Regions from separate parts of the Homo sapiens genome. Here all the other regions are linked to region 1. The links are contacts of gene promoters, found by promoter capture Hi-C in blood cells and fetal thymus (Javierre and others, 2016). All regions are on one chromosome and are shown on one strand. The core of a region is centred on a gene start or on the middle of the fragment in contact, and the rest is flanking DNA. Distances in the headings are between cores, read along the strand shown.

Region 1 (2,877 bases), core at 245-2,744:
AATCATCAGTATCCCTGGGTCCTCAGCATCCCTTCCTACCTCTTTTGACTGGGAATTACGAGATTACAGCCCCACCTACGGAAATTGAGCACATTAGCACTGGCCATGCTGTACATACAGCAAATGAGAGGGCTTCATACTGTTACAACAATCTGTACCACAATTCTCTGTGCGGTCTGCCCAGCTCTAAATGACATGTCCTCAGAGGCATCATCATCTCCAAGTCCATGGAAACCATGCACTTACAGAAACCAGAACCTCCCATACCACATGTTACTAATGACCTACAACATCGACTTCGTCTGTATCATGCAGTGCTCAACATTCTGGTTGCAGCATCACATTTATCAATAATTTGATTCCATGCTGATTCCTTTACTTGGAGTATTGAGATCCCCCAGGTACAGTGAAGGTATGACCCTCTTAAATGGAAGACCAGGAGTTGTTTCCCCTATGCTATGGCAATCCGCCACCCGGAAGCACTTGCTGCACCAACAGCATTCCCAAAGCTTGCCTCTGCAGCCCTGTAGCACCCATTAGAAACACTTCTCACAATGAACTACTGTGCTGGCAAACCCATAACTGGACTGCCGGACAGCAAGCTCTGTGAGGCATCTAGGAAAAAAGCTCGCGAAATCCCGAGAAACACTCTTCACTCCGGAATAGCGTCACATTCTTGAGTCATTTGGGATGACAGGGGATATCCTGGAGCAGGTGTATTGGGAAGTCAGTGAACAAGAAGGCTAATTCATTAGTGGGCCTGCTAGCGTAGTATTTTAACGATTTCGCAGCCTTTAAATCATTGGTGGTCTTTAGCGTGCCGGATCAGCTGGTGGTGGAGTTGGAGGATAGATGGCAGGGATCTGAAGAAAGGTGAAGTGTAGATAGGAGTAGAGACAATATGAAGTTTAGAAAAGACTAATTGCTGGACGCGGTGGCTCATGTCTATAATCCCAGCACTCTGGGATGCCAAGGTGGGAGGACTACTTGAGACCAGGAGTTCGGGACCAGCCTGGGCAACGTAGCAAGACCATGTCTCTACAAAAAATAAAAAATTAGCCAAGCGAGGTGGTGCGCGCCTGCAATCCCAGCTACTCGGGAGGTGAGAAGATCGCTTAATTCCGGGAGGTCGAGGCTGCAGTGAGCCGTGATCGTGCCATTGCACTCCAGCCTGGGCAACGGAGCGAGACCCCATCTTAATTAAAAAGAAAAAAATACAGGAGAGACTGGGCTGCTTTGAAAAGTGGATTTGACGGGAATGTGGGGTTTGGAGAGATCTTATGTTTTCCAAGACTAGAAAAACATTGTGGTTCCGTTCAGCCCTCCCGGAAAATACGTAGGGGACTTAAAGAGCGGACCGAGTACCTGTTTGTTTCCCCATCCCTTAGCCGGCAGGGCTCTGGCAGCGCCCTGGGAGAACTTAGGGAAGGGCCTTCTCGCAGCGGTTACCGGAAGTGACGCATTCATTCTCGCGAGAACAAAGACGCGCGAGCATCGGCGGCCCGGAACCGGCCTTGGAACAACTGTGGAACCTGAGGCCGCTTGCCCTCCCGCCCCATGGAGCGGCCCCCGGGGCTGCGGCCGGGCGCGGGCGGGCCCTGGGAGATGCGGGAGCGGCTGGGCACCGGCGGCTTCGGGAACGTCTGTCTGTACCAGCATCGGGTGAGGCGGGGCGTGAGAGGGAGCGGCGGTGGGTTGGAGCGGCGGTGGGTTTGAGCGTCTGTGGAACACAGGGCTGACAGTGTGGGATAGATGGTTGGTGGGACCTTGGGCAGTATTTGGGGGCCAGTGGGCTTGTGTGTGTGTATTAGAGAGAAAGATACTATGCCTGTGTGTCCAAAGTTGTATTTGAGGTACTGGGCATAGATAGAGCTGTTGCGGGGAACTTGGGTATGACTGTCAGGCTGTGACCAGGTGTTTAGTGAGTGTGACAGTGCGTGTGTGTCTCTGTGAATGTGGAGTGTCAGGGTGTGTGAGGCAGATGCACGTCACAGTGTGTATGTAGGAGCACGAATGTGTGAGAAGAGGGCTGAAGGGGACTGCCTTTGGGAATGTGTGCGTCCGTGTGTGTGTGTGTGTGTGTGTGTGTGTGTGTGCGCGCGCGCGCGCGCGCTTGGAGGCCATATGATATCAGTGGGGACTGGAGTAGACAAGGAAGGCTTCATGATGGGTCCAGAGTTAAGCCTTTGGAAGCATGGATGGGCTTTGGAATTGGGGATGTATTCCAGGTCGGGACAGTATGAGGGTGAGTTGGTGCAGAGCATGGCTTCAAACGAAAGGCTATATTAGTAGATGGAGATGGGGGGCGCTCTAGTAGGTGGAGGACAGTTAACATCAGACTCAAGAATTTTACTTTGATTTAATAGAGAATGTTTAACCATTGTAGTAGCAGTTAAAAAATCATATTTGGGTCTTGTTTGTTTGTTTTTGTTTTTGAGACGGAGTCTCACTCTGTCGCCCAGGCTGGAATGCAGGGCGCGATCTCGGCTCACTGCAGCCTCCTCCTCCCGAGTTCAAGCGATTCTCCTGCCACAGCCTCCTGAGTAGCTGGGATTACAGGCGCCCGCCACCGTGCCTGGCTAATTTTTTTGTATTTTTAGTAGAGACGGGGTTTCACCATGTTGGCCAGGCTGGTCTCGAACTCCTGACCTCAGGCGATCCACCTGTCTCAGGCTCCCAAAGTGCAGAGATTATAGGCGTGAGCCACGGCACCAGGCCTGGGACATGTATTTTTTGATATACCGATAAAAGCTGTGAACCCTTTCCCCAGAAAAATGCACAGATGCACATTCACACAACCATGCATTGCCATTTGAGAGGTTCGTGCCTTCCTAAAGGACATTTTAGGTAAATAGACCCTGGACTAATAATTCCTGT
Region 2 (2,877 bases), core at 210-2,709, 490 kb after region 1:
ATGAAGTTAGTAAGTCAATTCTGATTGACCCAATTTACTGCCTTGAGAGTTTCTAGGCCAAAGCACAGGGATGGGGGACCCACATGGAGCCAAAACAATTCCCTGAGTTAAGGAGACAAAGCTTAGAGTTCAGGAAGACTGAAGTAGCTAGAGTTTATAGGAGACAGTACAGGGAGGACAGAAAGATAACACTGGAGTAGCAAAGACTATCTCAATGGTTTAAAAAAAGGATTTTTTTTAAAAAAGATAGGCTTGGTACGGTGGCTCATGCCTGTAATCCCAGTGCTTTGGGAGGCTGAGATGGGTGGATTGCCTGAGGCAAGGAGTTCAAGACCAGTCTGGGTAAAATGGTGAGACTCCATCTCTACCAAACAAACAAACAAACAAATGTAGCTGGACATGGTGGCATATGCCTGTAATCCTAGCTACTTGAGAGGCTGAGGCAGGACAATTGCTTGAGCCCAGGAGTTTGAGGCTGTAGGGAGCTATGGTCACACCACTTCAGTCAAGCCTGGACAACAGGTGAGACCCTGTCAAAAGAAAAAAAGGAAGGAAGGAAAGCAAAGAGAGAGAAAAGGAGAAGGAAAGAAAAGAAAGGAAAGGAAGGAATGAAAGAAGAAAGGAAGACAGATAACTCTGGAGGTCTGCAGAGAACCTCCTTTAATATTCAGCTGAGTACTGACCGGTGCATGCATGCAAAGAAACTACGCAAGGCCTGGGACAGAACCAATAAAAAGGATTAGAAATAATGTGCCTGTCATTCATACCAAGCTGTGAATAATGCCTATTCCACCAGCCAGACAGGAAAATTTCAAAATTCATGGTCACAGGGTAGAGTTCACAGAAGAATCCTGACTCAGTAGTAAGGAATAATTAGCTCTGTATTAACCACTGCTCCAGACTTGCCCAGCAAATCTTAAAAGCAAGACCCAAAAGGACCAAACTGTTTTGGAACATTTGTAGGAATTCAAAAATGTCTAGTAACCAATAAAGTAAAATTCACAATGTCTTGCATCCAATAAAAAATTACAAGGCAGGAAAATAAGATATATTATTAGATGATAAATCAAATGAAACAAACCCAGAACTGATATAGATGTTAGAATTCGCAGACAAGGTCATTATAACAGCTATCATAACTTTATTCCACATGTTCAAAAAAGTTAAGAGACATCAGAGACATAAAAAGACTCAAATTTCTACAGATGAAGACTACAATGTATGAGATGAAAACATACCAGGAGAGACTAATAGCAGATTAGATAGTGCAGAAGAAAAGGTCAGTAAGCTCAAGGACAAAACAATAGCAACTATGCAAAATGAAAACACAGAAAGGAGATTTTCTTTTAAATAGAGAAGTTCATCAGTGACTTTTGGGACAATTTCAAGTAGTCTAATGTAAGAATAGCTTAAGTCTCTAAAGGAGGGAGTGGAGAACAAGCTGCAAGCTGAAAATTTTCCAAATGTGATGAGAAGTATAAATGCACAGGTCCAAGAAACATGAAAAAACTATACTCAGGTACACCATAAGAAAATTGTTCAAAACCAATAATAAAAAAATCTTAAAAGTAGGTAGAAAAAAGAGACATATTACATAGAGAAAAACAAAGATATGGATGATAGCTTTTTGTCAGAAACAATACAAGCAAGACGACAATGGAAAAACATCTTCAAAGAAAAAAAAAACCTGTCAACCTAGAATTCTATACCCAGCAAAAATACCTTTCAAAAATGAAGGAAAAAGCTATTTTAGACATATAAAAGCTGAAGGAATGAATCACTAGCATACTTTTTAACAAAAAAAGTTAAAGAAAGTACTTCAGGCAGAATGAAAATGAAACCAGACAGAAATACGGGATCTACACAAAGGAATAAAGAACACCAGAAATGGTAGTTGCATGTGGGTAAATATATGATTTTTTTCTTATTATTTAAATCTCTTATTTAACAAAAGATAATTGACTCTTCAAACAAAACTAACAATACAGCATGGAGTTTTTGATATATGTATGAGTAAAATATATGACAACAATAGCACAAAGACCAGGAGGGGATTTCAATATACTAAGGATGCCAGCATGGAAAGATTTTATAAAAGCCTAATCCTTGATGTTACTACAGAGCAGCTGAACCGGTATTAACAATTACCTACCTACCTTTCAACTTTTTGATGTGAGAAAGAAATATGTTTGATCAAATCTTTGATTTTTTTACAATCATAAACATTTCTGATACAACATCCATAACATAGTTAACATGACATTAGTAAAGGACCCCAACGAAACTGATTATCAGTTGCTTCCAGGCTCTATGAACTCCAATCAGAAAACCTGGGAAAAATGGACACTTACCCATGCTGGGTGTAGTTCCCCCCTCTGATAAACCAGAACATAATTCAATCCGATCAGCACCTGTAATATAAAAGCATTGCTCAACACATTTTTAAAAAATAAGCTGTTATTAAACAGCAACCTGTTTATATATATTTTTTCCAAATATAGAACAGTCTTAGAAATCATCTCAGAGAAATCAAATTATAAAGCTAGAGTAAAACTCTGTTTTTAACTCAGCTATACTCTGCAGCCCACATTGTGTTACTCATACTCAAATTTAAAAATTAATTAAAGTTAAGCTAGTTCTCTTAAATTTTTGTATTATAGGGTTGCCTCTCTATGTACAGGAAAGTAACATAGAATAAAGATGTTTCTTAAAACTGACTATAGTGGAATACTGAGTCTTTGTTGATAAGAAAATAACATAATATTTCCCAAAAGGGTCTTTATTATTCTAAGCTTTAAAAAACACAAAGCTACTTTTGAGTAGCTAAACCAAGATAATTTCAAGAATAAGAAAATGCTGAAACCAAAAGAATTATTA
Region 3 (2,877 bases), core at 202-2,701, 400 kb after region 1:
GTGACAGTTTCTGTACTCATTAGAGAAAAGGTCCCCAAAAGGATTTTGTAAAGGCAGTGGGGCCCGTGGGGTGTGTAAAGTGGGGATGGGCAGGAAATGGCCAGAAAAAGGCATGCCTAGGTTTGGGTAAAAAGGGAAGAATCTGTTCAATTAAGTGACCAAAACTGTGCCTCGGTGGTGTGTGAAGGTACAGAGAATTCTGGAGGTATGCAGAGTGCTGAGGGGGTAAGAACTGGAACAGGGTAGAATCCAATGCAGGGAAGAACCCTGTGGCCTGAGGGCAAGGGGGAGTGGAATGGGTCCGTGCTGCTACTAGATTCTGTGAGGATTTGTTGAAACCTGGGAAGAGTGGGGCGTTGGAGAGACGGGATGCAAAATGTTATACATGGACATACAGATGTTCCCTCCAATAACCCTGCTTCTTGTTTGTTGGCTTGTTATTAATAGTTAAAAGGCCGCTATGGTGACAATGTGCCTGAGGAACTGTACACGGACATGGGGGCGAGCCGCCAATCGCAGGCCACAAGGCCACGAGCCCCTGATCAGTGTCTTCAGAATTGTTTCCCCAGGCAAACAATTCACCACAAAAGCAGCTGGTGGGACCAGAGTTCCTCCACAGCCTCCCCTTCCCTCATCCATTTTATTGTGGGAATAGGGTTCCTTCCACTCGTTCCAGTTTCCCTGTTTTGCTTTCAAGCTGCACATTCCCTCGAAGAATACACTGGAATTGAGCCTAAACCACCCACAGACACCCCAGTGAAACTAGAACTTTGCCGAAGTAAAAAGAAAGACCCAGCTGCTGCTGAGAGACATCTCCAAGCAGCTATGCCTGTCCAAAGTCAACCAAGGAAGCACCATAGCATGGCTCTTCTGGAACCGACCTAATCGTCATGGGGGTTCTTATGGAGCTGCAAGACTGTGTCCAGAGCCAATCTCAAAGTAGTCTTGGATCCAAACGTAAATCTGTCCGACCTAAGCTTCCAGGGAGTGAAGGGTGGGCAGCAGTTAGGGTGACATTTGCCATAAATGGTGCACCCATTGATGCTCTCACTTCAGCTTCAGACAGTGGCCTGTGGGCTCCTGGGTATGTCAACATATGACTAAATGGCAAAGCTGCTGAGGGGAGGAGTGAGTGACTAGCAATGAATCAGAGAGAAGATTCTCAGGAAAGAGGCTGGGCTTTTATAGATAGAGAGGAAGGAAGGATGACTTAGCCATTTCCAAACCTACCTGAACAGATACATAAATAATGCCAAGAGGAATGACGATGATGGTGAAGACAGGAGTGGCCATGCAGATCATGACAAGGGTGCTGATTATCCCCAGGAAGCATGTAATCCAGCTGCGCAAGGACTGAGGCAGGGTGTCATCCACTGTGGAAATATCCTAGGAAAACGATTAGGAGAGATACACCATCACTGAGGTCTTCCTAAGATAGTTTACATCTTCCTAGTTCTAGCAAGGAATCTGTTGGATTCTGTGTGTTCCCAGTACTCCTTCATGTAATCATTTCATTGTGTTCATTTGCAATAGGCTGCATTGCTTGCCCCAATAACCAATTTCATTTCCATAATTTCTTCATTTAGGCCTGGCGTGGTGGTCACACCTGTAATCCCAGCACTTTGCAAGGCCGAGGCGGGTGGATCACCTGAGATCGGGAGTTCAAGACCAGCCTGACCAACATGGTGAAATCCCATCTCTACTAAAAATACTCAGGAAGTTGCTTCCTCTGCTAAGCATAGAGGACCAAGGGGAAGGGAGCTGGGGTTGAATGTGAGCCTGCCTGGACAGTGTTCTAACCAAGGAACCCAGCGGGAACAGATGTGTCTTACTGCCATGTTGCCTTCGTGTCATGTGAAATAAATGAACAAATAAGAAAAATGAATGAATGGATGGATGGTTTGGAGAACACTCAAGAAGCTTGGTTTATATTTTGGGTTGCCCTTGCCTAAATTTGTGGGGATTATATTGATTCTATGATTGGTAATATGTGAGTACCAAAGTGAGTTTAAGTTATCTCTGGAATTTCTCAAACTGTATCAGGGATAATGGTCTTCCAGGAAAGCTCTGAATCATGGATGACTCCTGAGTCTAACCTACCTTTCCCAAAGTCCTATCAGAATGCAAATAACTATACCCACAGTTGGCAGAGAAAAGAAATCCCTACCAGTTATCAGTTCTATGCAGATTACTTTTGATCCTTACCTGGCACAGAGTCTCCATCTTTCCTTCCTCCACTCCATCTCCTCTTAACTCAGCCATTGATCCCAGAGGCCCCTTGATCAAACTCCCCTTAATAGGTCTGAGCCACCTCCCCAACGAAACATACTATATAATTAATGACAGTTTCCTTTCTCATGCAAAAGCAGTCTTCAAACTATGACTGTTGCCTAAGTAACTCACAGAAAACCTCTGTGTTCTCTTTCCCAGAAGATTATATATATTACAACATGGGGAAAACTGTGATCTTTACAAAATTACTATGAGAAATTTCTCACCCAAAATTGAGTGTTCTTTTAGGTTCTAGTAAAGAGCAGAAAGGCCATTGAAGTTGTCTCTAGTGACATCATGCCCACTGTTTCTGCCCCAGAGGAAGATGACACAGGGGGACCAGTTAATGGCCCACTTTTGAAGCAGTTACTGTGTCCCCAGAACCTGGCTGTGGACTGTGAGCTATACTTTCTATGTCTGCCCCAAGACCAACAAACAAGAGTCCAGAGCTGCTCCATAAGCACAGGGCTAAAAACTGTGCTGGTGATAGTTACTTATCATTCAGAATTGCCTGATCTCTGCCTCTGTTCCTGAATTCCCATCTCAGATACACTAAAAAATCAGTGAGTTGGGTCTGGCCCATGGAAGAGAGACATCTATGATCTT
Region 4 (2,877 bases), core at 167-2,666, 370 kb after region 1:
TGTGTATAGATATCTCTTCCTCTCAGGAACAGATCCAATGAGATGTGAGAATCCAGTGAGATGATGTCCACAAACTTTCATGAAATGTGAGCTCCAGAGGAGCTCAGTTTCAATAAGGATTGAATTTTGTGTCACCCCATTTTAGTTAATTGTGAAGCTTGGATTCTGTTGATGAGGGTGTTAGTTCAGGGTCAGGAGTACAAACGGGCCTTAACAGTTGTGCTCTGAACTGTGTTTCATTTGCAGAACCTTATGCTTGAGGACCGAGAAACCTCCAGCTTTAAATACTTCATGCTAAATCCCCTCTCTGGTCGCCACATAACTCACGGGGCATTAAACTCTCCCGCCTGGTGGTACATGATACTGCTGAAGTCTTCACGGTTTTACCTTTGCCATGTGTAGCAGATCACCCAGTGCTTCAGAGCAGGGGCAGTGGACTCCGATCTGTCTGAGCCCCTGGCTTATGTCCCACAGCCTCTGCTAGAACTTTGCTGCAATTGTTGGTGCAGGTCAGCATTAGTATTTTACATATGTCAAGAAAGGAGTTTTCCACAAGTTGCAGATTTTGCAAGCTACATAGGGATACCTACGCCTTAACACTCAAGAGATGACCCTCAAGCAGAGAGGGGCAGAATTAGTGCCTTCCCAGCGATAGGCTGTGGGGTGGTGGTGGAAGGGAGCAAGCCTCTGGTTAGAGTCTCGGCAATGTATTCATTCTGGAAACATTTCTGGGGAGCAGTCAGGTGGGTGAGACCCTGCAGCCACCCTGACAGGTCCTTAGACGGAGCAGGACCACGGCACACAGCAATGCCTGTGAACCACCACACCTCGGCATCTCACCAAGCATTTCTCACAGCAACCACCCCAGAGGTCCAGAATTAGGAAAGCTGAGGGTGAGAAATTCTCAATCTGCTGTCGTCAAAAACAGGACTCACTTTGACAAGAGCCCTCACTACAGCCTTCAGTTGAGACCAAGAAAATACCCGCAACTCTGTTCAAACTGAATAAGATTTTTGCAATTTGATAGAAGGGATGCCAGGCACGAGTATTGCAACCAACTTTTAGCTGGGCTTAAAAGGCAGCATGACCCTCTACATACTCAAACTACAGTGGGATTTAATGAAGAAGATCCATGAATTGTCATTAAACTGACTTTAGCTGAAGAACTGTGGCAGTTTTATCACAGCTACCTGGGCTTACTTTTATTAGTTTCCTATTGCTGGAACAAGTTACCACAAATTTAGTGGCTGAAAACAAATTTATCTCAGCATTCTGGAGGTCAGAATTCAAAATTAGTCTCACCGGGCTAAAGTCAAGGTGTTGGCAGGGCTGGTTCCTCATGGATGCTCCAGGGGAGAATTCATTTCCTTACCTTTTCCGATTCCTAAGGTCTGCATATCCTGGCTTGCGGCCACTCCCTCCATCTTCAAAGCCAGCAGCGTGGCACCTTCAACTGTCTCACTCCGTCCGTCATCGCAGCACGCTCTCACTCCGACTGTCCTGCCTCTTTTATAAGAACGCTGTGTTTACATTGAGCCCACCTGGCCAATCCACGGTGCTCTCCCCATCTGAAGACCCTTAACTTAATCACATCAGTGAAAGTCCTTTTTTCCAGGGAAGGTGGCATATTCACAGGCTTTGAGGATTAGGATGTGGACATTTTTGAGGACCATTATTCTATCACAGGTGTGAAGCCACATGACATTTTAAAGGCAAATAGTTTTGTTTTGTTTTTTTTTTGAGACAGATTTTGCTCTTGTTGCCCAGGCTGGAGCGCAATGGCACAATCTCAGCTCACGGCAACCTCCGCCTCCCGGGTTCAAGTGATTCTCCTGCCTCAGCCTCCCGAGTAGCTGGAGTTACAGGCATGCACCACCATGCCCGACTAATTTTTTGTATTTTTAGTAGAGGCGGGGTTTCTCCATGTTGGTCAGGCTGATCTTGAACTCCTGACCTCAGGTGATCCGCCCACCTCAGCCTCCCAAAGTGCTGGGATTACAGGCGTCAGCCACCGCGCCCGGCCAGCAAATAGTCTTTTTGAGCATGGAATCGTGACCCAGTCCAGGCTACATTGGTGGCTCTAGAGCAGTGGTCAGCAAACCTGTTCTTAAAGGGCCAGATAGTAAATATTTTAGGCTTTGTGGGCCAATTCCTCAACTCTGTATTGTAACATGAAAGCAGGCACAGATGGCAAAGAAACAAAGGAGCATGGATGTGTTCCAGTAAAACTTTATGTGCAAAAACAGGTAGCAGGGCAAATTTGGCCCTAGAGCCATACCCCTACTCTAGGTCCAACTAAAATAAAAGAATTCTGTTCAACCATTAACATTGGAGTCAAGTTTGCAGAGAAATTAGACTGTTGGATTAAGGACAATGAAAAGCTGGCCAAAGAGTAATTGGTTTACAGATTGGACCTAATAATTGTGTCAACCAGGCAAATATTTATTATACCAGAAGCTACCTTTATATTACCAGAATGCAAACCCTGACAAACCAGACCACAGGTGTCCGCAGATGAGCACTAAAAAAGAAGCAGCCAGGCAAAGCTATTGTTTAGCACCAGGTATCAAGAGCAATACCTGTGACCAGAGCTAATAGTACAACCAGTGCTATCCACAATCTTCTGACAACCAAGTTGTTTCCCAGAGAAGAACGAGTGTCTATAGCAAGCTTGTCCAGCCCATGGCCTGTGGGCCGCATGTGGCCCATGGCTTTCAATGTGGCCCACCACAAATTTGTAAACTTTCTTAAAACATAATCAGATTTTTTTTGCGATTTTTTTTTTTTTAGCTTATCAGCTATCATTAGTGTTAGTGTATTTTATATGTGGCCCAAGACAATTCTTCTTCCAGTGTGGCCCAGGGAGGCCAAAAGATT
Region 5 (2,877 bases), core at 250-2,749, 310 kb before region 1:
CGACAACAGATTGCATCTACGATAGTGCTCCCATAAGATTATGATGGAGCAGCCCTATACAGGTATACCGTTTTTTATCTTTTTTTTTTTTGGCAATAAAAAAATTCCCAAACTACCATTTTTTAACCTTTATATACTTTTTTCTTTTGTCACCTTTTTCCTGCAGTATCTGATACCGTACTTTTACTATACCTTTTCTATATTTAGGTATGTTTAGATACACAAATACTTACCATTGTGTTAGAATTGACTATAATATTCAGCACAGTAATATGCTAACACCATGTAGTACATGGTTTAGTCAGAGGCTACACCATATAGCCTAGGCATATAGAAGGCTACACAATCTAGGTTTGTGTAACTATACTCTATGGTGTTTGCACAATGATGAAGTCACCTAACAACACATTTCTCAGAACGTATCCCTGACATTAAGCATCACATGTCTGTATTTCAGAGAGGTCCCTAATATCTCAGTATACACACTCACATAACAGCTGAGGAAGGGAAAAGGGAACTTTTTAGAATACACGAAACTAGCTTAAAGACTCGACATAAGCCGGGTATGGTGGCACACGCCTGTAGTGTCAGCTACTTGGGAGCTAAAGCAGGAGAATCACTTGAACACGGGAGGCGGAGGTTGCAGTGAGCCGAGACCACACAACTGCACTCCAGCCTAGGCAACAGAGTGAGACTCTGTCTCAAAAAAACAAAACAACAACAACAAAAAAAAACAGACTCGACATACATTATTTCATTTAATCTTCACAACTTCACAACTATTTACAAGACATTATCATGTTTCATTTCTTTTCATTTTTCCTTTTTTAAGCAATAGGATCTCACTCTGTTGCCCAGGCTGCAGTGCAGTGGTGCAATCATAGTTCACTGTAGCCTCAAACTTCTGGCTTCAAGCAATCCTCCTGCCTTGGCCTCCCAAAGTGCTGGGATTACAAATATGAGCTACCATGCCTGGCCCTATTATGTTTCTTTTTCTTTCTTTTGAGACAGAGTCTTGCTCTGTCGCCAGGCTGGAGTGCAGTGGCGTGATCTTGGCTCACTGCAACCTCCACCGCCTGGGTTCAAGCAATTCCCCTCTCTCAGCCTCCCGAGTAGCTGGGACTACAGGCACGCACCACCATGCCCAGCTGATTTGTTTTCTTTGTATTTTAGTAGAGACGGGGTTTCATGATGTTGGCCGGGATGGTCTCCATCTCCTGACCTCATCATCCACCCACCTTGGCCTCCCAAACTGCTGGGATTACAGGCGTGAGCCACGGCATCCAGCCCCTATTATGTTTCTTTTAGAGCTGAGTAGGCTGAGGCTTAAGAAAGTGAAGTGGCTTGTTCAAAGTCATGGAGCTAATAAGCGGTGAAGACAGGATTAGAAATCAGGTTCATATGACTCCAAGCCATGCTGCTTTTGAAAGATTTCTTACCTTCCATGCCAATGAGCAGCAGGTTAGAGGTAAGCTGCCCCCAGCCACGCTTTCCCTGTTGCTTATTAATCCAGTTCCAGTTAAAACCTAAGAAGTCCATGACAATCTTCCTGCCCACAGTGTCATTGAGCGTTTGCTGCAGATACAACCTATGTTCCCCAAGAAGAAAATCCTATTAGTGCATGCACACACAGCCCCTGGCATGGCCTCTCCACATCTGAAAATCCAAGCCCAAATCCATACCAGCATCTCCCACAGAGAACAGATGTAGTCAGGCAAATTTTAGCCAACATGGATTCTCATACAACTGAATTCTTACTTATCCTTCATTGAGTTATGTTCAACACCAAATTTTTTAATTTACTGGTTTTTCTTTGTTTTGTTTAAAGAAACAAGGTCTCAATATGTTGTCCAGGTTGGTCTTAAACTCTTGGGCTCAAGCAATCCTCCTGCTTCTGCCTCCCAAAGTGCTGGGATTACAGGTGTGAGACACTGCATCTGGCCCCCAAACTTTTTCTTTAAAGAAGTGATGCTTAACCTTTTTTGGGTCACAGAATGACTCCTTTAAGAATCCAAAGAGTAGGAGGGTGAGATGAAAAATAAAATTAAAAAAAAAAAAAAGAACCTGGAGAAGAAGTCCCAGCTACTCAGGAGGCTGAGGCAGGAGAATCACTTGAACCTGGGAGGCAGAGGTTGCAGTGAGCTGAGATCGTGCCATTGCACTCCAGCCTGGGTGACAAGAGCAAGACACCATCTCAAAAAATATAAATACATAAATAAATAAATAAAAGAATCCACGGAGGTTCCCCATAAAAATGCACATACACCCAGAACTTTCACACAATTTCAGACTCCTAGAAGCCTATCCACAGACCCTAGAATGATGAATCAGTCTCACTCCAGAGACTCGCAGAGCCTGAGACATCTCCGTTGGCCCTTGATGACCACTGTGGTAAATTGTATTACTGTTCACCAAGAGCTGGTTCCCTCAGTGTGCGAGTTTTCTTTCACATCCCCTTGAAGCCAGGCTTGCTTATTTACGCTGCTCTGGCCAAGGAAATGTCCACAGAAGCGACTTGTGTTGTTTCCAACTGTAATTTAAGAACAAGTTACCACTACCACATCTCTTTCCTTCTGCCACAGCAACTCCAAAGTTCTAGATAGTAGCTGCTGGGGCAATCTGGGTGCCAGAGCAAGTAAGATGATGTAAAGAACAATATGACATTACCCATGATCAACATGTAGTAAGTGAGAAATAAGCCTCTGTTGTTTCTAGCCCGAGCTCTGGCTTGAAGCCTAGTTTATCTTAACTGATTCAGCCACCTATCCTGTTGCAGCCTTCTACAGCTAAAGTAAGGAAGATAGCTTATTAGGTAAAGGCCTCAGGCTCCTAACATACCTGAGGAAGGTCATAAGTTACTTAAGAGATATGAAAACC

What was found. Contacts are between HindIII fragments. The CHiCAGO score rates a contact against its expected background, and 5 or more counts as called.
Region 2: a contact is called between a fragment that was not itself captured here and the fragment with the promoter of CHUK in region 1, in 1 of 17 cell types (endothelial precursors). The highest score is 5.1, in endothelial precursors.
Region 3: a contact is called between a fragment that was not itself captured here and the fragment with the promoter of CHUK in region 1, in 1 of 17 cell types (endothelial precursors). The highest score is 6.1, in endothelial precursors.
Region 4: a fragment that was not itself captured here is called in contact with the fragment with the promoter of CHUK in region 1 in 1 of 17 cell types (endothelial precursors); the score reaches 5.8 in endothelial precursors.
Region 5: a fragment that was not itself captured here is called in contact with the fragment with the promoter of CHUK in region 1 in 1 of 17 cell types (fetal thymus); the score reaches 5.9 in fetal thymus.

The regions. Positions count from the first base shown.
Region 1 is chr10:100,228,213-100,231,089 of GRCh38, reverse strand. CHUK (component of inhibitor of nuclear factor kappa B kinase complex) reads left to right here and starts at 1,494. Exons shown (of 21, transcript NM_001278.5): 1 at 1,494-1,662. The coding sequence starts at 1,558. It overlaps CHUK-DT (CHUK divergent transcript), which reads right to left and starts at 1,430. Exons shown (of 4, transcript NR_186419.1): 1 at 1,366-1,430; 2 at 1-75. RefSeq lists silencers at 185-447, 1,517-1,756 and an enhancer at 1,357-1,406. The HindIII fragment of the contact is 6,397 bases long and covers 512-2,877 here.
Region 2 is chr10:99,739,244-99,742,120 of GRCh38, reverse strand. CUTC (cutC copper transporter) reads right to left here. Exons shown (of 9, transcript NM_015960.3): 3 at 2,352-2,411. Among named protein-coding and RNA genes, the nearest start is that of CUTC, 8.4 kb to the right of the region's middle. The HindIII fragment of the contact is 2,671 bases long and covers 124-2,794 here.
Region 3 is chr10:99,832,889-99,835,765 of GRCh38, reverse strand. It overlaps ABCC2 (ATP binding cassette subfamily C member 2), which reads right to left. Exons shown (of 32, transcript NM_000392.5): 24 at 1,231-1,386. Among named protein-coding and RNA genes, the nearest start is that of ABCC2, 52 kb to the right of the region's middle. RefSeq lists an enhancer at 600-1,799. The HindIII fragment of the contact is 943 bases long and covers 980-1,922 here.
Region 4 is chr10:99,856,568-99,859,444 of GRCh38, reverse strand. No RefSeq gene overlaps it. Among named protein-coding and RNA genes, the nearest start is that of DNMBP-AS1, 69 kb to the left of the region's middle. The HindIII fragment of the contact is 2,513 bases long and covers 160-2,672 here.
Region 5 is chr10:100,539,345-100,542,221 of GRCh38, reverse strand. HIF1AN (hypoxia inducible factor 1 subunit alpha inhibitor) reads right to left here. Exons shown (of 8, transcript NM_017902.3): 3 at 1,440-1,588. Among named protein-coding and RNA genes, the nearest start is that of HIF1AN, 4.8 kb to the right of the region's middle. The HindIII fragment of the contact is 8,099 bases long and covers 1-2,877 here.